Linked DNA regions of Homo sapiens: all the other regions are linked to region 3. Evidence: promoter capture Hi-C in 16 types of primary human blood cells and fetal thymus (Javierre and others, 2016). All regions are on one chromosome and are shown on one strand. The core of a region is centred on a gene start or on the middle of the fragment in contact, and the rest is flanking DNA. Distances in the headings are between cores, read along the strand shown.

Evidence for each region. Contacts are between HindIII fragments. The CHiCAGO score rates a contact against its expected background, and 5 or more counts as called.
Region 1: a fragment that was not itself captured here is called in contact with the fragment with the promoter of EIF1 in region 3 in 1 of 17 cell types (naive CD8 T cells); the score reaches 5.7 in naive CD8 T cells.
Region 2: a contact is called between a fragment that was not itself captured here and the fragment with the promoter of EIF1 in region 3, in 1 of 17 cell types (endothelial precursors). The highest score is 5.3, in endothelial precursors.
Region 4: a fragment that was not itself captured here is called in contact with the fragment with the promoter of EIF1 in region 3 in 1 of 17 cell types (naive CD8 T cells); the score reaches 5.4 in naive CD8 T cells.
Region 5: a contact is called between the fragment with the promoter of CDC6 here and the fragment with the promoter of EIF1 in region 3, in 4 of 17 cell types (naive B cells, activated CD4 T cells, total CD8 T cells and 1 more). The highest score is 8.2, in naive B cells.
Region 6: a contact is called between the fragment with the promoter of TOP2A here and the fragment with the promoter of EIF1 in region 3, in 10 of 17 cell types (fetal thymus, erythroblasts, total B cells and 7 more). The highest score is 11.6, in fetal thymus.
Region 7: a contact is called between the fragment with the promoter of IFI35 here and the fragment with the promoter of EIF1 in region 3, in 1 of 17 cell types (fetal thymus). The highest score is 5.5, in fetal thymus.

Annotation. Positions count from the first base shown.
Region 1 is chr17:40,624,707-40,627,664 of GRCh38, reverse strand. SMARCE1 (SWI/SNF related BAF chromatin remodeling complex subunit E1) reads left to right here. Exons shown (of 11, transcript NM_003079.5): 11 at 1-2,703. Among named protein-coding and RNA genes, the nearest start is that of SMARCE1, 22 kb to the left of the region's middle. The HindIII fragment of the contact is 1,649 bases long and covers 426-2,074 here.
Region 2 is chr17:40,445,593-40,448,531 of GRCh38, reverse strand. All of the region lies in intron 1 of IGFBP4 (insulin like growth factor binding protein 4), which reads right to left. Among named protein-coding and RNA genes, the nearest start is that of IGFBP4, 3.6 kb to the right of the region's middle. The HindIII fragment of the contact is 3,027 bases long and covers 59-2,939 here.
Region 3 is chr17:41,687,581-41,690,459 of GRCh38, reverse strand. EIF1 (eukaryotic translation initiation factor 1) reads right to left here and starts at 1,575. Exons shown (of 4, transcript NM_005801.4): 1 at 1,391-1,575; 2 at 519-682; 3 at 271-372. The coding sequence starts at 1,421. RefSeq lists enhancers at 57-965, 891-980, 966-1,874 and a silencer at 1,361-1,750. The HindIII fragment of the contact is 2,180 bases long and covers 1-1,795 here.
Region 4 is chr17:40,561,374-40,564,539 of GRCh38, reverse strand. All of the region lies in intron 1 of CCR7 (C-C motif chemokine receptor 7), which reads left to right. Among named protein-coding and RNA genes, the nearest start is that of CCR7, 2.5 kb to the left of the region's middle. RefSeq lists enhancers at 1-429, 3,140-3,166. The HindIII fragment of the contact is 1,905 bases long and covers 893-2,797 here.
Region 5 is chr17:40,286,264-40,289,364 of GRCh38, reverse strand. CDC6 (cell division cycle 6) reads right to left here and starts at 1,486. Exons shown (of 12, transcript NM_001254.4): 1 at 1,275-1,486. RefSeq lists enhancers at 871-940, 971-1,150, 919-1,726. The HindIII fragment of the contact is 8,752 bases long and covers 1-2,944 here.
Region 6 is chr17:40,416,339-40,419,307 of GRCh38, reverse strand. TOP2A (DNA topoisomerase II alpha) reads left to right here and starts at 1,412. Exons shown (of 35, transcript NM_001067.4): 1 at 1,412-1,537; 2 at 2,413-2,568; 3 at 2,796-2,886. The coding sequence starts at 1,517. RefSeq lists enhancers at 1,417-1,506, 1,228-1,753. The HindIII fragment of the contact is 7,280 bases long and covers 1,137-2,969 here.
Region 7 is chr17:43,005,116-43,008,160 of GRCh38, reverse strand. IFI35 (interferon induced protein 35) reads right to left here and starts at 1,377. Exons shown (of 7, transcript NM_001330230.2): 1 at 1,193-1,377. The coding sequence starts at 1,213. RefSeq lists an enhancer at 1,208-1,517. The HindIII fragment of the contact is 11,688 bases long and covers 1-3,045 here.

The DNA of each region.
Region 1 (2,958 bases), core at 1-2,500, 1.1 Mb after region 3:
CATCCAGTTTTTTTCTGTAATGCAGTGACAGTGTGGAATGACCACTCAGCCATTATAAATTTGTGTACTCAGGGCCCTTGTCTCACCCAACTATCTCTATAAACTGCTGCAGTAGCTTATTTGTACAAGACACTTGTGAAAATCAGTTTTCTTACATTATAGTCATTGTCACATATGGAAGTTGGTCTTTGATTCCAAAAGTAAAGGGAATATGTTTCTACATTAACAGGAATATGGAGAAATCTGTAACGTTTGAATTATCTTTGAAAGAATGGCTAAATGATAAATGTTAAGTCCTGTGCCTATATGGAGAGGACTCTGTACCAGCATGAGTTAATTTAAGTGGATTCACTGCTATTCAGTTCATAGCACATTAGTGACTAGGAATGTGTGTTCAGCCTCCTGAGAGAGGAGGGGAGGAAGCTTGATACTGGGTGGAAACAACTCTTGACATCTGTTTCCTTGTGTGTCAAAGAACGAATTTGTATCAAATAGATCTGTTTTGAGCTTTGGCCATTATTTGGCTAAGAACTTCAGCCATCTCATCTCAGACAAATTGGACAGCCTCTTTGATACATTTTCTAGTAGTCAAAATGGGGCAGATGTAGTTTAATATGGGTGGAAAACTGCCCCAGCAAGATACCAGGTTATTTACTGTGGTATCGAAAGCTCTAAGAGAATGGAAGTGGTTCTTTTGCCCGGCTGGAAATAGCAGTGGGAAGACAAGTCTATCCAGACCAAGCCTGTCCATACAACACTGGCAATCAGTTGATGAGGGAATTAAGTCAGATGGGAGACGTCTCAATCTGTCGCCCAGGTTGGAGTGCAGTGGTGGCGATCTCAGCTCACTGCAACCTCCACCTCCCAGGTTCAAGCAATTCTCTCTGCCTCAGCCTCTAGAGCAGCTGGGATTACAGGCTCTCGCCACCATGCCCGGTTAATTTTTGTATTTTTTAGTAGAGATGGGGTTTCACCATGTTAGCCAGGCTGATCTTGAACTCGTGACCTCAGGTGATCCGCCTGCCTCAGTCTCCCAAAGTGCTGGGATTACAGGCGTGAGCCACTGTGCCCGGCCTCAGTTGGGATTTGACAGCTCTGAACCTCAGCAGGGGAAGATTGATGTAAAAATCCACTTGGTCAGAGTGATATATGTAGACTTGATGTTTGAGATGGTTCTCAGTTTAGAGAATGTGGGATATGGTAGAGGTCTTTGTTTTTTTCCCATGTCCCAAAAGGTGCTGGGCAAGTAGCTTGAACTCGAGCCTGTTTTAATTATAAAATAGATCAAACTGCTCTTTCTTGGTGCCCTTACTGCTCCTTGATTTTTAGTGCATTTATTTTGAGTATGAATGCATAAAGTCTGAGGGCCTAAATTTTGTTAATTTTTTTTAACAAATGGGAGAGGGGAATCCTCGATAGTCACCCAATTTTCCTTTTTTTTTGAGACAGTCTGACTGTTGCCCAGGCTGGAGTGTAATGGCGCCATCTCGGCTCACTGCAACATCCAGCTCCTGGGTTTCAGCAATTCTCCTGCCTCAGCCTCCTGAGTAGCTGGGATTACAGGCGCCCGCCACCACGCCCGGCTAATTTTTGTATTTTTAGTAGAGACAGGATTTTGCCATGTTTGCCAGCCTGGTCTCGAACTCTTGACCTCCTGATCCACCCTCCTCTGCCTCCCAAAGTGCTGGGATTACAGGCGTGAGCCACCGCGCCCAGCCCCATAGTCCCCCAATTTTCTAACAGTTTTAAATTCTGTAACTTCTCCTGTCTGTAAACAAGGCTGTCTTTTCAAATGGCTCTCCTACAGGATGTGATAATTATCTATTCTATAAAGCCGAGGTTTGGAGAGGTAAATAGCTATTTCACATTAACACAATAATGTCAATGCCCTATGGAAAAGATAAAATACTTGGACTATATTTTAAAGGGGAATCTGGGGTCATGCATATTGAAGTTTAACTAGATCCCTCCAGATTTTTGGTTTTGATCCTACACATTTAGATACTAGTTTTGGATTTTAGACAGTTGGTGCTGACAGTGTGAAACTCCTATTGCCTGCAGTTAAATTGAAGCTTTGGTTTCTCGTGAACAGGCAGTGAAGCTGGTATTATACTTTAAGTCCTCATTTCAGAAATAGTTTCCCTCCACCCCCAAGCACTACCACACATGGTCTCCCCACCTGGTTTCAGCTAGTGCATTAGTTTTATCTTGTTTTTTACCGCTGGGCAAACCTTGCTGGAACAACAACTGACTTCATGATTTGCACATTTGGAGGGCTTAACGTCTTTGCAAATGAAAAATCCACTGTACAATAACAAGCTCAAAGGAACTCGGAGCCTTTTTAGAAGAAATCGTGCTGAATTATAATGTGGCTTACTGCAATAATGTTTCTTTGATCAGGATGGAAAGGAAAATACTGAGTTTAGCAGAAAACGATGTCTAAATGTATTTGTAATGATACAATTGTTTATAAATGTTTTACTATTAGGTTGAACCATAAGAAATTGCCAGTGTACAATTTCATCTACAAAATGACTGGCTTAACCTAAATTCTGCATTTTATACTCCAAGAATAAGCTCTTCGTGGCAGCTTTCTAAGTGTGAAATGATGGAACTTTCTATTTGCCAGAATGACCTACACTTCTCTAATAGTTTATCTCATATTGTTAGCCAAACGCTGATTAAAATGCAAATTTCAAACTATTGAGTTTTTAAGAGCCTGATGTTTAAAATACATTTTGGTGAACTTTTAGTTAAACTAGCTCATTTATGTTCACACATTTTCTCATTTAGCACCAGAAAGTTTCTTACAGCTCTTTTGCATGCATTCAGGAGTCAAAAGTATTATATGGGGAGGGGAAATTCCCAAATGATAAATACTCTTTACATAAAACTGAGACAGTAGCTGCAGATAATGGCTCCCTTTGAGGAGCCACTTGAAAGAAAGGAAAGGCTGCC
Region 2 (2,939 bases), core at 323-2,822, 1.2 Mb after region 3:
CTCTGAGCAGGAGTGGAGTCAGACCTATTCCCCTGAAAAGTCTGACCTCCAAAAAGCTTGTTTGGGAGATGGGACTTCCAAGTAGGCTTGGTCCTCCTACAGCGCCCAGCTTGGAGCTAAGCCAGTTGACATCTGACTATAGGGGAAACCTCGGTCTTTGCTCCAGCAGCAGAGGAAGGGAAGGCGCCAGAGAAGAGGCCACACGGCTTTGGCACCACCGGCTGCAAAGTTTGTGGCGAAAGCCAGAGGATTTCCTCTTTCCTGTTGCCTGATTTTACCCTCACAATTTCTCCCCAACGCCAGCCCCTGGCCCTCGAGAGACACCTAGGCTATGAACTGAGTGGGCCCAGCCATCCCGACCAGAAGTTTCAGCTGTGATCCAGAGGGTCACCCACCTGTCCTGCTAGAAAGGTCTTTTCCCTCTTCCCCTAGACTCTAGCTGGAGAAGCCAAGACCGCTGGTGCTGGGTACCAGGCCCTTTCTCTGAGGTCTGGCTCAAGGGGTATCACCCCCAACAGCTGTGTCATGCTGCCAGCCTCAGAATAAAAAACAGATAAGGCAACTTGGCCTGTTCTTCCCATGTTGACAGCAGCAAAATGCACCAAAGGCCACCCCACCCCTCTCAACTCCTCTGAATGTTGCCCCAAATTTGCTCCCTCGTCCTACCGCTTCCCTAAGTCCCAGCATCAGCTTCTTCATCACCATCTTCCTCATCACTTCAATTTATTGAGCTCTTACCCGATGCCAGACGCCCCAACCCTGTGAGGCAGGTCCTGTTGCCCTCCCCACTTTAAAAATTAGGAAAATGAAGTAGACTGGGTGGAAGGGGAGGAGGAGAGACTTAGCTCTGCAGCACTCTGTCTTTAAGTGGAAAGACTCCTGATACCCGAGGCACCAATACTGCTAGCTTTGCCAGTACTAAATTAAAAATGGGAAGCGGCCATGCTCCTCCCTCCCCCTCCCCACAAGGCACAGAATTTCTGGGAATGCCCTTGTTCCCATGACATAACTGGATTCCCAGTACTGAAGTAGGGGGGCAGAATTTGCTGCATTGACTAAAAATTAACCCAGCCTGCCTGTTCCCTAACCCTGTCCCAAAGGGACTGAGAGCCCAGCTTAGGAACTCCCCGTCCAAACGCTGATCTTTCCGCTGTCCACTCCCCCAGATTCCATGAGTCTAGGATCAGTACCAGGATGCAGAGGTGTGGACTTTTGATGCACACGCCCCGCCTCATCTCTGGTGGCCTCAGTGGTGTTAAGCCACAACCTGGCCAGCACATGGAAAGCTGTGACAGGAGGGCAGGCAGGGGTGGCTGGAGACGGAAAGGGGAGATCTGCCCCTGGGGCAAACAGGAGGCAGCTGGACCATAGCAGCCAAAGAAGGGGGCATGCCAAGTGGCCACCCTCCCCCAGCCACCTGCTGACACTCAGCCCCAAAAGGAAAAGGCAGAAAAAATAGACAGGTACCCTCGACCAAGCTATTCGCGGGCCAGTGGGCCCAAACCTTGGGACCTAAAGCAGACAGTGGCCTACTGACTGTGTAAGGCTAAAAAGATGGGTGGGTAGGGGCTTGGTCGTCTTATCTCACCCACAGACCCTGCAGGGCTGCAGCAGAACTCTAGAGAGTGCCTTTTACATGGTGCCATGTGGCCCAGGTCACAGCAAGGGATTACTTCTATGATGACTAGGAGGTGTGGGAGGGCACGGGCATAGCTTGCTCAGTAGGTACCTCCAGGCTTCCCTCGTCTCTCTCCAGATACCTGCATCCATTGCATGGCTGGAGGCTGGAGGACAAGGCAAGGAGGAAAGGGGGAGGGGCATTACAGACCTTGGCTGTGTCATCCAAAGGGGACCTAAAGCCACCCCATTCCAAGACACCGTTTTTTGTTTTTTTTGTTTATTTGTTTTGTTTTCTTTAGACAGAGTCTCGCTCTGTCACCCAGGCTAAAGCGCAGTGGCACAATCTTGGTTCACTGCAACCTCCACCTCCCGGGTTCAAGTGATTCTCCTGCCTCAGCCTCCCAAGTAGCTGGGACTACAGGCACGCACCACCATGCCCAGCTAATTTTTGTATTTTTAGTAGAGACGAGGTTTCACCATGTTGACCAGGCTGGTCTCAAACTCCTGACCTCAGGTGATTCACCCTCCTCAGCCTCCCAAAATACTGAGATTACAGGTGTGAGCCACTGCACCCGGCCTACTTTTTTTTTTTTTTTTTTTTACGAAATAGAGTCGCCCAGGCTGGAGTGCAATCACGTGATCATAGCTCATTGTAACCTTGAACTTCTCATCTCAGACTCCCAAATACCTGGGACTACAGGCATGAGCCACTGCAGTTGCCTATTTTTTTTTTTTTTTTTTTGTAGAGACGGGGGTCTGGCTATATTGCTCAGGCTGGTCTCGAACTCCTGGCCTCAAGCAATCCTCCCAAAGTGCTGGGATTACAAGCATGAACCTCCACACCCAGCCCCTAGATATTCCTGGAGGCCAGTTTGCATTATATCCAGAGGACAACCACAAAATTCTCATGCCATGCCCTCCCCAAACCCCTAGGGGATCTTATTTTCCTCCACTACAGGATGGAGTATTCCTACCCAACCAGAGGATGAGGTATTCCTACCCAGCCCTTTGAGGGCTCTTCTGTCTTGCATTCAAAGTGCTGAGAGAGGAGGAGGCTACCAGCCATCCTTATCTGGTGCCAGATACCCTCTGGCTGGTGGAGGATGGAGATTCAAAGGGAACGTGACTCTGTTGTACCCCGCGAACCCAAGGGCTCGGCCCTTGCTCCCTCCCAGTCTCAGTACCCCTCCTCTACCATTGCCACTGGCATCTCTGCCCCAAGATTAGCGACTTTCTCCCCCAGGACCCCCCTTCCCAGATATGCTGGGTGCCAGGCTGGCATTTCTCCTAGAATGTTTTCTGCTGACCCATCTCTCCCT
Region 3 (2,879 bases), core at 326-2,825:
AACAACCCAGCATTTGGCTTATTTTACAATGCATCTATATGCTATTCAAATTTGCATCTGTGAAGTAGATCCACAGAAACAGTAAACCAAAGGTAGACAAGTCCCTTCTGCTTTTTCCTATAAAACAGAAATAAGTCTATGTACTTTAAAACCCAACTGAGGTTTTGCTCAGCCTTACAAAGCCAACTTTTATGTCCCCAGCAGAAGCTAACAGACAGGATCTGAGATTTGCCAGCAGAGAGGCACAAATCAAGTAGTGACTGAACTCACCTCTACGAGGAACTGGCATATGTTCTTGCGTTGGTCACCCTGTAGCTGAATTACTTCTCCATATTCCGGATGCTCAATTACAGTACCATTGCAGGCAAACTTCTGCAAGCACAAAGGAAAACGAATTAGGCCTAGCAAGAGCATGAACGCATTTATCACCCCTTCCGCTAACAATACATACAACACAGCTGGCACCCCCTTGTGGACAAATCCATTATGACTTTCCCAAAATCTCACTGAAGACCTACTTTCTTAAACGCCTTCACTAGTTTCTTTTTATCGTAATCATCAGCGATCCCTTGGACAGTAGTAAGGGTCTTCCTGCCGTTTCTCTGTTGAATTCTTATATGGATATAATCCTCAGTGCCAGCAGGAAGCAGGTCATCACCCTTACTTGCATCAGCAAAGGGGTCTGAAAAAAAAGGTTAAGCTCGTTCAGAGCTGTCAAAGATAGGATGCCACTGCCATCCCCTCGGTCCCCAGGTGTTTTGCGCGTGCAGAAAACAACACTGAAATCGTCAGGGCTTGGGCCAGGCCGAATGTGTCCTTTGCTGGCTCTCCCCGAGCAGGTCAGTCCGGGACGGCCAGCTTCCCCAGGCTCGGGGAACGCCCGGGCCTCCCGCCCTCCCTGGGAAGCCGATCACATGTCGGGGGAGTCCGGGCTGCCAGGCGGTGCCCCACCCAGCTGATGCAACCCGCCGGAACCCGAGCTCCCGAGGCGGGGCTAAGCCTCCCACCCCCATTGGTGCACCCGCTTGCCACTTAGGGCTGGCACCGCCTTTCCCTCCGGATCCGTGACAACGGGTGGTGACGTAACGGACGTGACGCAATGGTGACGGGAGGGGCGGGTGTGGCCCGAGGAGGCCCAGGAGCCATTAGTAAATGCGCCACTGAGACGCCGGGCCCGCCCAAGGGCTGACCTACCGCCTGCTCCTTCCGGTCGCGCTCAGGGTCCGACCCCGGGGCCCAGGCCTTGATCCCGCTGCCCTGCGACCCTGGTCAAGTTTCCCCTGCCCGAGCTTACGAAGGCCCGGAGCGCTTGGCAACTTCCCGGAACACGTCTCCGGGCCCGGAAGGCCCCGCTGCCCCACCCGGGCCCGCGACCTTTCCCATAGCTTACCGAAAGAGTGGAGGTTCTGGATAGCGGACATACGATACGATTCCTTTTCCTCGGTGGAAACGGCCTGCGGAAGGCGGCGGCGGCGGTGGCGGGAGAAGGCGGGCAGGGGGGAACGGAACGTCGGGAAGCGAGGGGGCTCAAGGGGGAGGCTGCTGAATCCTCGGCGGCGGCTCAGTGACTGGGGCAGAGGGGCGGTGCCTGTGTTTAGTTATATAGCCGCGCCTCTGACGCCAGCGCGCTGCCCTCACGTCCTGACCCCACCCACAGCGTCGTGCCCCAAGCGCCCAGGCGGCGCCGCTTCCAATTGGTTTGGAGGCGGGGACATGGGATGGCGCTTGCGCAGGAAGTCTGCGGCAGGAGGGCGTCCTCTTGACTCTAGGAGAGCTGGGAGGGGGAGGGAAAGCTTGATCTGTCTCGGAGCCTGCGCAGTGCGAGTGGACGGTGTCTGGGTGCCGAGAATACCGGCCCAGGTTTCGAGCGCGCCTACGCACTGTGTCCTTTGGTACGTTCCACCTTCTTGACCCTGTTGCATCCCTGTCTTCTCGAAAAGGGGAGTTTCATATGGTAAATGAACACTCCTTAGAGAGGATTTAGATGATGAGCCTCCCAAACACGAGAAATCCCCGTTGTGTCAAACCCACCTACCTACCCACCCTACTACCCACGGAGTCACAGCGGGATTTAGGGCGGCACTTTGATTAATCAACATACAATAATATAATCAAAACGGTAACCGCATAATTTAGATTGCCATTTAGATTTATTCTAAAGTGGGTTAATCCGATCTAAAATTTTCATTTAGATTAGATTAATCCATCTAAGGAAAAAGTGTGCCCAGCTCATTGGCATGAGTTCAAGGTATAGTAACTGGTTCTGGGCCCCCCCGAGAATAATTCTGGCACCAGAGGGCGTCCTTCATGTGGCACAGCTTGTGTGGAGTAGAGCCTTCCTAGAGTTTAGATGAAATATTTCCTTCAAAACAGTCAACCTTTCTTGCTTTCAGTTTATTTATTTCAACACTCAGTTGTAGGGGTAAGTAGAGTGGTGAAAAGAGACCAGGAATTTTAGACTCAAAGGCCTCCGGGGATAGGCAGGTAAGTAGGATCAAGGAGTGCAAACAGCCAAGTGTGATGTAATGGGGTGGACTGGGGGCTGGAGTAAGAACTACGGGCTGCAGTGGCCGCTCACCTCCAGCCCATTGTGCTAGATCTTTTTCAAGAGTGCCAGGAAATCCAGGTGTTTACATAAAATCTCTTGATTTTTAAATATTGCCAATAAATTGATTTTTTTTTTGAGACAGAGTCTCACTTTGTCGCCGAGGCTGGAGTGCAGTGGCACTGTGTCGGCTCACTGTAACCTCCGTCTCCTGGGTTCAAGCAATTCTTCTGCCTCAGCCTCCCGAGTAGTTGGGGTTACAGGCATCCACCACCACGCCCGGCTAGTTTTTTAAAAATATTTTTAGTAGAGATGGGTTTTCACCATGTTGGCC
Region 4 (3,166 bases), core at 596-3,095, 1.1 Mb after region 3:
AGTCAGACCAGGCTGAGGCTAAGAAGACCAGGTTCCTAGATGGCTTGTCTCACCAGCAAACAATGCACCACGGCGGCCTCAAAGCCGCAAAGGGTTGGCTTTAAAAAGTGAAGGTTCCCTGGTGCTGTCCTCACACCCCTCCTCGCCACACCACAGCCTCCTTGATTTCATCTCTTACTTTCCCGCCTGCCCTGAACGCTGGATCTGGACCCAGCAAACAGCTGTGAAAGGGTTAAAGTGGTCACCCCACCCACTGACTGTGAACTCCTGAAAGGCAGGTTCAGGTGCTTTGAGGATGTGAGGAGAAAATGTCTGCGGAATGAATGAATACACCGTATCAAGAACTCCGTAGAGTTTAGTTTTTGAAAATCTCTTCCAAATGCCTCATTTCCCAGCCAATCTACCCTTAAATCCCACTCCCCTGCACCCCCTCCACCACCCCCCATCACAATCCCACAGTACAGACGTCACCCACAGAAGACCCTGCTCCAGCCTTTCATACTGGCCTCCAGGAAGGAAACCAAGCAGTGCCCAGTGGTGTGCTACTGGGCATTTGAAAAGCAGCTCCCCGGGGTGGAGCACTGGTAGCTGACTCCAGGGTGGAGGGAAAGTCCTGAATTTGTAGTGCTTGCCAATTTCCATGGTGTAAATTCTCCCACCCTGGCTGATTGATTTCAAGCCATCTACATGACTGAACAGGGGGTTGGGAAGATGTGCAGAGTGTCTTACCCCAGACTAGGTTTAGGGGTGCTAGACTCCTAGGCTTTGATGCAGGGAGAGAGGGTAATCTCTGGTCCAGGAAGAAGGGATATTCTTGCCACTTCACTCAACTTGAGAGAGCCCCAACGGTCAAACCCGAAATACTGGTAGGAGGGGAAGCCGCTGACAAGCTTTACTCAAAACGGGCTCTCTGGGCCGTTGATGGGGTGGGTGGGCCTTGGAGGATCTGTTGTTCTGCTCTTCATCTGCCCAGCAAGGAGCAAGAGGTGGGTGAGGAGGGAGGGTTTCTGTTACACAAAATGAAAACTCCCAAGCAGGGCTGAGCTGGCCTTTTTCACGGTTTGAATGAGCAGCTCTGAGGCACCCTCCCCACCTTCGAGCAATGAGACCGAAGATCTTTCATAATTCTCAAAAGCAAAGCAAGGAAAAAATGAACCCATGAGAGATGTGTGCCTCACAGCTCGGACATAAATGGTGGCAAAGGGGGATGCTGAAGCTAATTCAGGGCCAGTTTCTTGCCTGCCAGAAACTTGGCTGGGGAGGAGAGGAACGCTGCAGCCTGGGGTCGCTGTTGGAAAAAATCTCTCCTCTTTGCTTCGGACATTCAGGCAACTCTCATTGTTTGAGGGATTCAGGGATGACCAGTCTGGTGGGGAGAGTGACACATATGTCACAAAGCCACTGCAACAGAATAAGATACAGCATTGACCAGGGCAAGGGCAAGACAAGAAGGGAATAGTGAACCTGGGTCAGAGAGGTATTTAAGGTGGGTTTTCAAGGGTGTGTAGGAGTTGTCAAGCCCAACAAGGAGCTGCAATGGGCCCAGGATGTGGCAGGAATGGCAAACTCCATTGCCATCAGAGGCCGACAAGGTAATAGAGGGAATGGGCATAAGGTGCAGGAAGTGGAGGGGAGTAGAGTGACCCAGAGGGTGCATGCCCCACCTAAAGGCATTCAAATCTATTATTTCAAAAACTCCATGCTGACAAGCAGAGTGTCCTGGGGACTAAGGCTGCAGCCGTGTAGATGGTCAGCTGAGACAACAGTAACAGAGACAAGAAAGAAGCAAGCGGAGGGGAGGGTGGAGTAGCTGGCCATGCCAAGGAGGAAGATGAGGAGGAAGGACGCAGGCACAGGAGACCCAATCCTTAAAACGTGGTACGGCATCCCTAAGGAATTTGAACTTTATCCTGAAAACAATGGGGACCCATCAAAGATTTTTATTTTTCAAGTAGGTGAATTAAAGGATGAGATTTGTGTTTTGGAAGGAGTTCTGTGGCAGCAAAGAGGCAGCAAAGCCCGTGTCAGAACAGAGGTGGGGCCGGCTCTTTTGGGGGCCGGGATGTTGGGGGATGGAAGCAGGAAGCACTGGTGGCCAGTGGGGCATGGGGAGCAAAGATTCCCCTCATGCTCCGTGGAGCGTCCTAGATGCAGCAGGCTCATCAGAAACACAGCCTGATGCAGTAGCCAGAGCCCAAACCTTGCTATCCTGTTCAAATCTCAGGTCCCTCTCTTAGCAGCTGTGTGGCCCCAGGCATTTGGCTTAATCTCTCTGGGCCTCTATTTTCTGGAATCTAAGATGAGGATCACCAGGGTAGCTCATGAGATGTTATGAGGGAGAGACACATACAGACCCAGTGGCCGCACAGAAGGATGGTTAGGAGTGTGGTTGCTGGAGTTGGAGGGTTTCAAAGCCTGCTCCCCTGCTGGCCATTGTGTGACTCTGAGAAAGTTACTTGCTGTGTTTCAGTTTCTCATTGGTAAATGGGGATAATAGTAGCGCCTACCTCATGGGGCTTTTGAGAGGATGAAATGAGACCATACATGCAGACAGTGTGGCACGCAGTGAGAGCTCAGTGAATATGAATTATCTCATTGGATACAGCAGTTGATAACATAGAAAATGCAAGGTCTACCAGGCTCTCACCCATCCCTGCCTACTGTCTGAAAGTGGATTCCCCAGATCTCTAGACCTCTCACCACCTCCCTGCTTCTCCTCTGCCTCCCTTATCCAAAAAAAAAGAGAGAGAGAGAAAAGTTGTGTTGGCAGGTGAGGAAGTTCAAAGAGGAAAAAGCTTGGGGTCGCTCTTGGGGCGAGCTGATTGGGCAACTGTGATTTCCTGGGCAGTCTGGAGGACCTGGAAAAATGTGGGGATGGAAGTTCATGGTTTGGAGATGGGGGCAGCCAGCCAATAATTTTCTTTCCTGGATGGGCAGTCTCTCATGTTGGGGGCTCCGGTTGGAGTTCTAGGGAATTTTCATGATGATCATTACTGAAAACTCAAGAACTCAGAAAACACCCAACATCTAGGTCAACCACTCCTTAGCCCCAGAGATTCCCAACTTCATTGGTCTCACTGAAGCTGCTGCCCAAGACCAGTTTCTTTATGACTTTGTAACAGACAGGGATGATCTGACTCAAGGCCACTGACCAGGCTCCCTTTTG
Region 5 (3,101 bases), core at 237-2,736, 1.4 Mb after region 3:
GTGAAGAGAAAATAACTAACATGGAATTTATTTATACTGATGATTAACACTTATTTCCTAATTATGTTATCACACTTATTTTAGCATTCACTTTTGCTTCACATCCAAATCTATGCAAGAACAGCTGACATTTGTTGTCTACCTACTACGTGGAAGGGCGCTGTTATAAACACTTTAGGTACCAACTCGTTTAACAACGATCTTAGGAGTAGGTACTATTATTAGCCTTTATTTTACACATGAGAAAACTGAGATAAACAGTGGCCCAAAGTCACAGAAAAACAGGAATGTAACCCCGGGCATCTGGTGCCAGAGCCCAAGTTCTTAACCAATTGAGCGATGCAATAACAAGTTACCTGAAATGGGCCGGGCGCGGTGGCCCACGCCTGTAATCCCAGCACTTTGGGAGGCTGAGGCGGGCGGATCACCTGAGGTCAGGAGTTCGAGACCAGCCTGACCAACATGGAGAAACCCCGTCTCTACTAAAAATACAAAAATTACGGCCAAACGCGGTGGCTCACGCCTGTAATCCCAACACTTTGGGAGGCCGAGACGGGCCGAGACCATCCTGGCTAACACGGTGAAACCCCGTCTCTACTAAAAATGCAAAAAATTAGCCGGGCGTGGTGGTGGGCGCCTGTAGTCCCAGCTACTCGGGAGGCTGAGGCAGGAGAATGGCATGAACCCGGGAGGCGGAGCTTGCAGTGAGCCGAGATCGCGCCACTGCACTCCAGCCTGGGAGACCGAGCGAGACTCCGTCTCAAAAAAAAAAAAAAAATTAGCCGGACGTGGTGGCGGGCGCCTGTAGTCCCAGCTACATGAAGAGGCTGAGGCAGGAGAATGGCTTGAACCCGGCAGGCAGAGGTTGCAGTGAGCCGAGATCGCACCACTGCACTACAGCCTGGGCGACAAGAGCGAGACTCCGTCTCAAAAAAAAAAAAAAGTTACATGAATTGATTTATATAGAACTTCTAGTTTCCTCCCTCCAGGCACGCGGGGTGTCTTTATCACCAGTTCAGCCCAGCACCCGCCACATTTAGTCTCTTCTATCCCAAGCCCTCACACTGCAGCTCAGTCTTCCCTCAGTTCTTTCCGCCCCTGCACTCAGTCCTCATTCTAGGCAGCTCTCAACGCACCCCAGAATATTTCCTTCCTACAACTTTCACCTCCTTCACACCACGCATAACTGCTAGAACTACCCCGAGGGCACCTGCCCTTTCCCTGATCCCGACCTCAGACCTCCAGCGAGCTCAGCTCTTTTCCCTTCACTTCACCTCAGGCCTCGCCGGAACCCGCAGCCTTCACCCAGCTCCGCTGCCTCACAGACCCCAGGCCTCCTCGAGCAATCCTCTTCTTTCCACCTCCTCAGTGCAGGATCCTTCTCACGTCTCTCACACGCAGCCTCTCGGACTCACCACCACAAGCCCCTGAACAAACTGCACAGCGGCAGCAGCAAACTCCAGCCGCGCTCGCGCCAAATCCGAATGGCCACAGCGTTCCCACCTCCCGCCAAAGCCCGGCCTCGATTCTGATTGGCTGTAGTCACAGAGCCTTTCGCCTTGGGCACCGCCTCTTTTTTTGCTACCAATCCAGTGGAAGAGTTACAGCCAATGAGAGAGCCCCAAGTCTTAGAGTCGCTGTGAGGCCACGACCACTGAACGGGGGAGGGAATCTACATCCGGGGCCTCGGTGGAAAGACGCGCGATTGCGGCAGGGCGACTCTGGGTAAAGCGGGCCGGCCCGCCGCAAAGCACGCTGGGAGGCGTAGTCTTTGCTGCCGCGCAGTCGCACTCTTCCTTCGACTGGAAGTGTCAAGATGTGGTTCCCCTTCTCACTGCCTAAAGTACCCATTTGCATCATCCTGATGGGCTAGATTTTCAGAACTGCTACATGATACCTACCGTTTTGGGTTCTGTGCGCCAGGTATGATGCTAGGCACTTTCCTTACCTCTCTAATGCTCAACCTCGCAAAGTACAAAGCAAACTTCTATACAAGGTTAGAGGTCACAGCATCTTGGTGACAGTGAAGAGCCTAGGATCCAGATCTCCTGATGGCTGAACTAGTGATTTTTATGGTAAAGTTCTACACACCTATATAAAGAAAAACTATGCTTCATCATAGTATCTCTTGATTTGTGCTTCAAAGGTGAGAAACAGAGCCAACTCTTTACTTTTATTTCGTTCAACCTAAGAATATTATGTTCTGTGCATCTTCTTACCATTAATCCACACATCATGGGGAGGGAATTATGACCCCTTAATTTTAAAATCTTTTATGGCGAAACACTAGGGTTTCAGGGCCAGGGAAGACAGCTATATAGAAGAGGCAAGCTGAGTTTTTAATGAAAAATATAAATTAGCGCAGTAATTTGAAGGCCAGCTTCCAAAGCCAATAATTCATCTAAGCCTCAGGTTCCTTTAGAGGCCAGAACCCAATTCTAGGTGATGGTAAACATTTATCTTTTACCCCTCAGTAACAAACAAAATAGAGCCATAAAGCCTAGAAAGAGGGAAGCAACAATATTACGATCATCAGTGAATTGGTACCTAGTTCATGAAGAGAGCCAATATTGAGTGCTTAAGTGTATGCCAGGGGCTGTGCTCAGTATTTTACCTACATCACCTTATTAATCTTCACAAGCACCCCCATGAACCTGGTGTTATTTCACTTTACAAATGAGGGAACTACAGTAGAGGGGAGTTGAGTAAACTTGCCCAAGGTCACACAACTAGTAAGTGGAAGAGCTAGAATTTGAACTCTGAACTCTGACAGAAAATCAAACTCTTGACCACTTTATCATAGGGGGATGATTAGACAGATTCAGGTTCTAAACAGGAAGAGATGGTGGAGTACATTTCGTGAAGGCTTTTTAGCAGCTGAAAACTACAAAAGTGAAGAGAATGGGCTGCCATGAATGGAGAAAGTTACCACACAATGGAAGCTTTTTTTTTTTTTATTTTTGAGACAAGTCTCATTTTATCACCCAGGCTTGAGTGCCGTGCCATGATCTCGGCTCACTGCAATCTCCACCACCTGGGTTCAAGCCATTCTCCTGCCTCAGCCTCCTGAGTAGCCGGGACTACAGGCACGCGTCACCACG
Region 6 (2,969 bases), core at 163-2,662, 1.3 Mb after region 3:
AAAATTAGCCAGGCGTGGTGGCAGGCGCCTGTAATTCTAGCTACACGGGAGGCTGAGGCAGGAGAATCGCTTGAACCCGCGAGGTGAAGGTTGCAGTGAGCCTAGATCGCGCCATTGCACTCCAGCCTGGGCGACAGAGTGAGATTCCATCTCAAAAAAAAAAAAAGCAACAAAAAAACAAGCAAACAAAAAAGCTTCAGTCTTGGCATTTCCTTGTCAAATTGGAACAGCTGTTCTGGACTGCAGGGTTCACGGAGGTGAGCAAAAGTAGCCAGTCGGAGGGTATCTGGCCAGCTGGCTGCGGAAAAGGTTTCAGCCCCGGACGGCTGAGCCCACCCTCAGCTCAAGAGGCTACCACCACAAGTTATCCCTTTCGATTTACCAGTTGCAGTCCAGCGCTGCTCTACTGGGGACCTGAATGCTGCCCTCCATTTTGCAAAGCCTTTCTACATCCTTCCACTATATGGAACCCCCAAACCACAACTGTGGCACTTTTATTTTAATTATTTTTATTATTTATTTATTTATGTATTTATCTCTTGAGGTGGCCTCGCTCTGTCACTCAGGCTGGAGTGCAGTGGAGCAATCACGGTTCAAGGCGCCTCGATCTCCGATCCCCGGGGCTCAAGCGATCCTCCCTCCTCAGCCTCCGGAGCTGGAGTTACAGGTGTGCGATGCCTCGCCTGGCTATTTTTTTTCCTTTTTGGGTAGAGACGGGGTCTCGCTATGTTGCCCAGGCTGGTCTCCAACTCCTAGGCTCCAGCGATCCTCCCGCCTCGGCCTCCCAATGTGCTGCGAATACAGACTCCAGCCACCGCACACAGCCTACTTTTATTTCTTTGAAAAATGAATTCGAGGGTAAAGGGGGCGGGGTTGAGGCAGATGCCAGAATCTGTTCGCTTCAACCAAGCAGCCAGGCTGCCTGTCCAGAAAGCCGGCACTCAGTTTCCTCAGGAAAACGAAGCTAAGGCTCCCATTCCCCTCGCTAACAACGTCAGAACAGAGGACAGTTTTTAGATTTCAGGGATCTTAAATAGATTGGCAGTTCCTGGAGAATAAACATCCTTTGCTTTTCTCCTGCACACTTTTGCCTCAGGCCACCCCTTCCCGCTTCCAAAGCCCATCTCTTCCAAGCTTTCCGCACGAGAAAACAAGTGAGCCCTTCTCATTGGCCAGATTCCCTGTCAATCTCTCCGCTATGACGCCGAGTGGTGCCTTTTGAAGCCTCTCTAGTCCCGCCTCCCTAACCTGATTGGTTTATTCAAACAAACCCCGGCCAACTCAGCCGTTCATAGGTGGATATAAAAGGCAAGCTACGATTGGTTCTTCTGGACGGAGACGGTGAGAGCGAGTCAGGGATTGGCTGGTCTGCTTCGGGCGGGCTAAAGGAAGGTTCAAGTGGAGCTCTCCTAACCGACGCGCGTCTGTGGAGAAGCGGCTTGGTCGGGGGTGGTCTCGTGGGGTCCTGCCTGTTTAGTCGCTTTCAGGGTTCTTGAGCCCCTTCACGACCGTCACCATGGAAGTGTCACCATTGCAGGTACGGCTCGCGGGGGGGACTGGCGGTGGAGCCTCCGCGCGGCCCGGGCATCTCTCTGGCCGCCCGTGACGGGTGAAGCTCTGGGGCTGCGGTCAGGCCGGCGACCGGCTTGGGAGCCCATATTCTCCATTCCCGGTTCCGGGGTGATCGTGGAGAGGCGGAAGCCCCTTCTGGTGCTAGTAGTGAAGTATGACCCGGCTTCCAGGGTGTCGTGCGTTGTTGCCCTGTTTCTAGGGGCAGGAGTCCGTTGGTCCCGTAGTGGATCCATGTTACAGCGGCCCGGGTGCGACGTTATTGAGTCGCGCGTACAGATGCTTTCCCCTCCTGCCCGCTGCTTGAAAACGGTCTTGAATGTCCCCGATCTTGGAAAGGGCAGAGCCTAGCACAGTGTTTCTCTGGAGCAGCTGGCCAGCTTACAAAAGCGCCCCCTTCCTGAGTTCACAACGCTCAGGTGGCCAAGGGATTGAACGGATAGCCGCCCAAACTGCTGCTGCCGAACTAGAATTATTTACGGTGTCGTGTGCTCGGGACACCGTAAATAATTTATAATAATAGGCACTCGGTAAATAATGTATGCAGGAACTGAAAGAAGTGGGTGTATTTTATTGATGACATCTACCATGTTGCTCAAGAAAAGAGGTTTCCAGACAGACCCACTTGGTGAGATAATATGTGTCTGTTTAACCTGACACCTGGGGACCTGGCCGCAGCGAATTTAAATTGTCCTATTTGTACAAAACTGGCAACTCCACCACTGCCTACTAACAGATTGCAATGCATGTTGACATCTCACTATGGTAGGCATTTTGTTCCTAGTTTAGGGTAAACTTATGATTAAAAATTCCCTTCTTTCTCTCTTTTTTTTTAATTGCTAGCCTGTAAATGAAAATATGCAAGTCAACAAAATAAAGAAAAATGAAGATGCTAAGAAAAGACTGTCTGTTGAAAGAATCTATCAAAAGAAAACACAATTGGAACATATTTTGCTCCGCCCAGACACCTACATTGGTTCTGTGGAATTAGTGACCCAGGTAAAATCAAGCTCATCAAAGGCAGTTAACCTAGTAGTTGAAATGGATACTCTTCTTTCTGTACCTTTCATGTACTGAGTGTGACCTTTCTGTATCTCTCATGTACTGAGTGTCACTGGAACTGGCCTAAATATGGTAATACTTAATATGAACACTTTATGGTAATCATGATAACAGAACAATGAATATAGAATAAAAATAACAGTATTTCTTTGCCTTATTTCTAGCAAATGTGGGTTTACGATGAAGATGTTGGCATTAACTATAGGGAAGTCACTTTTGTTCCTGGTTTGTACAAAATCTTTGATGAGATTCTAGGTGAGTAAATCCTTTAATATAAAGATCTGGTCAAATCTTTCATAAGAAGTATCATTCCAAATAAAAATTTAAAAAAGATAAAA
Region 7 (3,045 bases), core at 128-2,627, 1.3 Mb before region 3:
TGGGAGGCTGAGGCAGGAGAATCGCTTGAACCCGGGAGGCAGAGGTTGCAGTGAGCCGAGATCATGCCACTGTACTCCAGCCTAGGAGACAGAGTGAGACTCCGTCTCAAAAAAAAAAAAAAAAAAGGGATTGTCCTTGGGGAACTGGGGTTCTGAAAAGGTTGGCAATAATAATATTAAGAAGAAACACATATTGAATGCTCTGTAGGTGCTAAGCAGTGGGATAAGTTTTTACCGTGTTAATCTATGGATTACCTAGTGTGATTCTTAAAGTATAATTCTTATAGTATATATATATATATATATATATATAAATTTTGTGTGTGTGTGTGTGTGAGAGACAGTCTCCCTCTGTTGCCCAGAGTGGAGCATAGTGGTACAATCTCGGCTCACTGCAACCTCTGCCTCCCAGGTTCAAGCAATTCTCCCGCCTCAGTCTCCCTAGTAGCTGGGATTACAGGTGTGTGCCACCATGCCTGGCTAATTTTTGTGTTTTTAGTAGAGATGGGGTTTTGCTATGTTGGCCAGGCTGGTCTCGAACTCCTAACCTCAAGTGATCCACACGCCTCAGCCTCCCAAAGTGCTGGCTGGGATTACAGGTGTGAGCCAACACACCCAGCCTAATTCCTTTAGTTTAATTTTTTTTTTTTTTTTTTTAGACAGAGTCTCGCTGTGTCACCCAGGCTGGAGTGCAGTGATGCAATCTCGGCTCACTGCAACCTCCGCCTCCCAGGTTCAAGTGATTCTCCTGTCTCAGCCTCCCAAGTAGCTGGGATTACAGGCGCACACCACCACACACAGCTAATTTTTTGTATTTTAGTAGAGACGGATTTTCACTGTATTGCCAAGGCCTCCCAAAGTGCTAGGATGACAGGCGTGAGACACCACGCCCGGCCTAGAACAATTGTTATTTGGGTCACAGAACCCGCTGAGTATCTGATGGAAACTACAGATTCTCTCTCCAGAGAAGTGTACACACACAGGATTTAATGAGCTCCTCCTGTCTGAGGCAATAGGTTAGGGAACCAACTCTTGCAGAGGCAACCCCAGCCCTGTGTTTCTCCCCAGCCCTTCAGCAGGTCTGAGATGGGCAGGGTGAGGCTTGGCTGCCAGGCCCTGAGATATCTGCAGGTTCCTAGCCAAGAGGATTACTCCTGTTTCCCCACTTCCCAACTCCCTCCTCCTCACTTACGGCATCCAGTGGGGCTGACATGGGTCTCGGGTCTGTTTGGCAAGAGCTGAGGCTTCAGAGCTGGGCACAGTGGCAGAATTCACAGCAACTGAACTCTTGTTTGTACCCCCCAAAGGGCTGTGGTCTCTCTCAGCCCCAGCAAGACCCGAAATACACCTCAGGAGGCTCTGCTCGCAGGCTGTTTGCTTCCACTTTCATTTCCGTGAAATCCCTGCCTTCTGGCGCTCACATGCCGCCCCCTGCCGAGGCTTCCCCACCCCTGGGAGGAGCCTTCTTGGTCAGCAAAGTCGACTTCACTCAGCCAGGCTGCCTCAAGGAAAGCCACCTCACCCCAACTGCAAACTGGCCCCCATCAACCATTCCCAGCAATCTCCGACAAGCCCATTGGTAGACCCTGCTTTGTCAATGGATTATTTCCCTAGAGCCTAGAATAATGCTGGGCACATTGAACATTGATAAAATAATTGCTGAATGAGCTGGGTGCGGCGGCTCACACCTGTAATCCCAGCATTCTGGGAGGCCCAGGCGGGCAGATCACCTGAGGTCAGGAGTTAGAGACCAGCCTGGCCAACATGGTGAAACCCCACCTTTACTAAAAAAATACAAAAATTAGCCGGGCGTGGAGGTGCATTCCTGTAATCCCAGCTACTTGGGAGGCCGAGGCAGGAGAATAGCTGGAACCCGGAGGCAGAGGTTGCATTGAGCTGAGATGGTGCCATTGCACTCCAGCCTGGGTGACAAGAGTGAAACTCCATCTCAAAAAATAAATAAAACAATAATTGCTGAATGAATGAGAAACACAGTCAGGACAGATAACGCCCATAGTTCAAGTTCACAAAACTGCCGGGTGCGGTGGCTCACACCTGTAATCCCAGCACTTTGGGAGGCCCAGGTGGGCAGATCACCTGAGATCCCAAGTTAGACACCAGCCTGGCCAACGTGGTGAAACCCCGTCTTTACTAAAAAAATACAAAAATTATCCGGGTGTGGTGGTGTATTCCTGTAATCCCAGCTACTTGGGAGGCCGAGGCAGGAGAATAGCTGGAACCTGGGAGGCAGAGGTTGCATTGAGCCAAGATCGCGCTGTTGCACTCCAGCCTGAGTGACAAGAGCGAAACTCCATCTCAAAAAATAATAATTGCTGAATGAATGAGAAACACAATCAGGACAGATAAAGTCCACAGTTCAAGTTCACAAAACTGCCAGGCGCAGTGGCTCATGCCTTGTAATCCCAGCACTTTGGGAGGTCCAGGCGGGTGGATCACGAGACCATCCTGGCCACCATGGTGAAACCCTGTCCCTACTAAAATACAAAAAATTAGCCGGGCCGGATCACACCACTGCACTCCAGCCTGGGCAACAGAGTGAGATTCTGACTAAAAAAAAAAAAAAAGTGCCAATCCCAGCAGCTGGGCCCACTGGTAACATGTGCCTATAGTTCCAGCAGGTTGAGGCAGGAGGACTGCTTGAGCCCAGGAGTTCGAGGCCAGCCTGGGCAACACAGTGAATCTTGTCTCTTAAAAAAAAAAAAAAAAAAAAAAAAAAGGCTGGGTGCAGTGGCTCACGCCTGTAATCCCAGCACTTTGGGAGGCTGAGGCGGTGAATCACTTGAGGTCAGGAGTTTGAGACCAGCCTGACCAACATGGGGAAACCCTGTCTCTACTAAAAATACAAAAATTAGCCGGGCGTGGTGGCATGCGCCTGTAGTCCCAGCTACTCGGGAGGCTGAGACGGGGGAATCGCTTGAACCCGGGAGGCGGAGCTTGCAGTGAGCCGAGATCGTGCCACTGCACTCCAGCTGGGTGACAGAGCGAGACTCTGGCTCAAAAAAAAAAAAAAGAAAAAAGTTCACA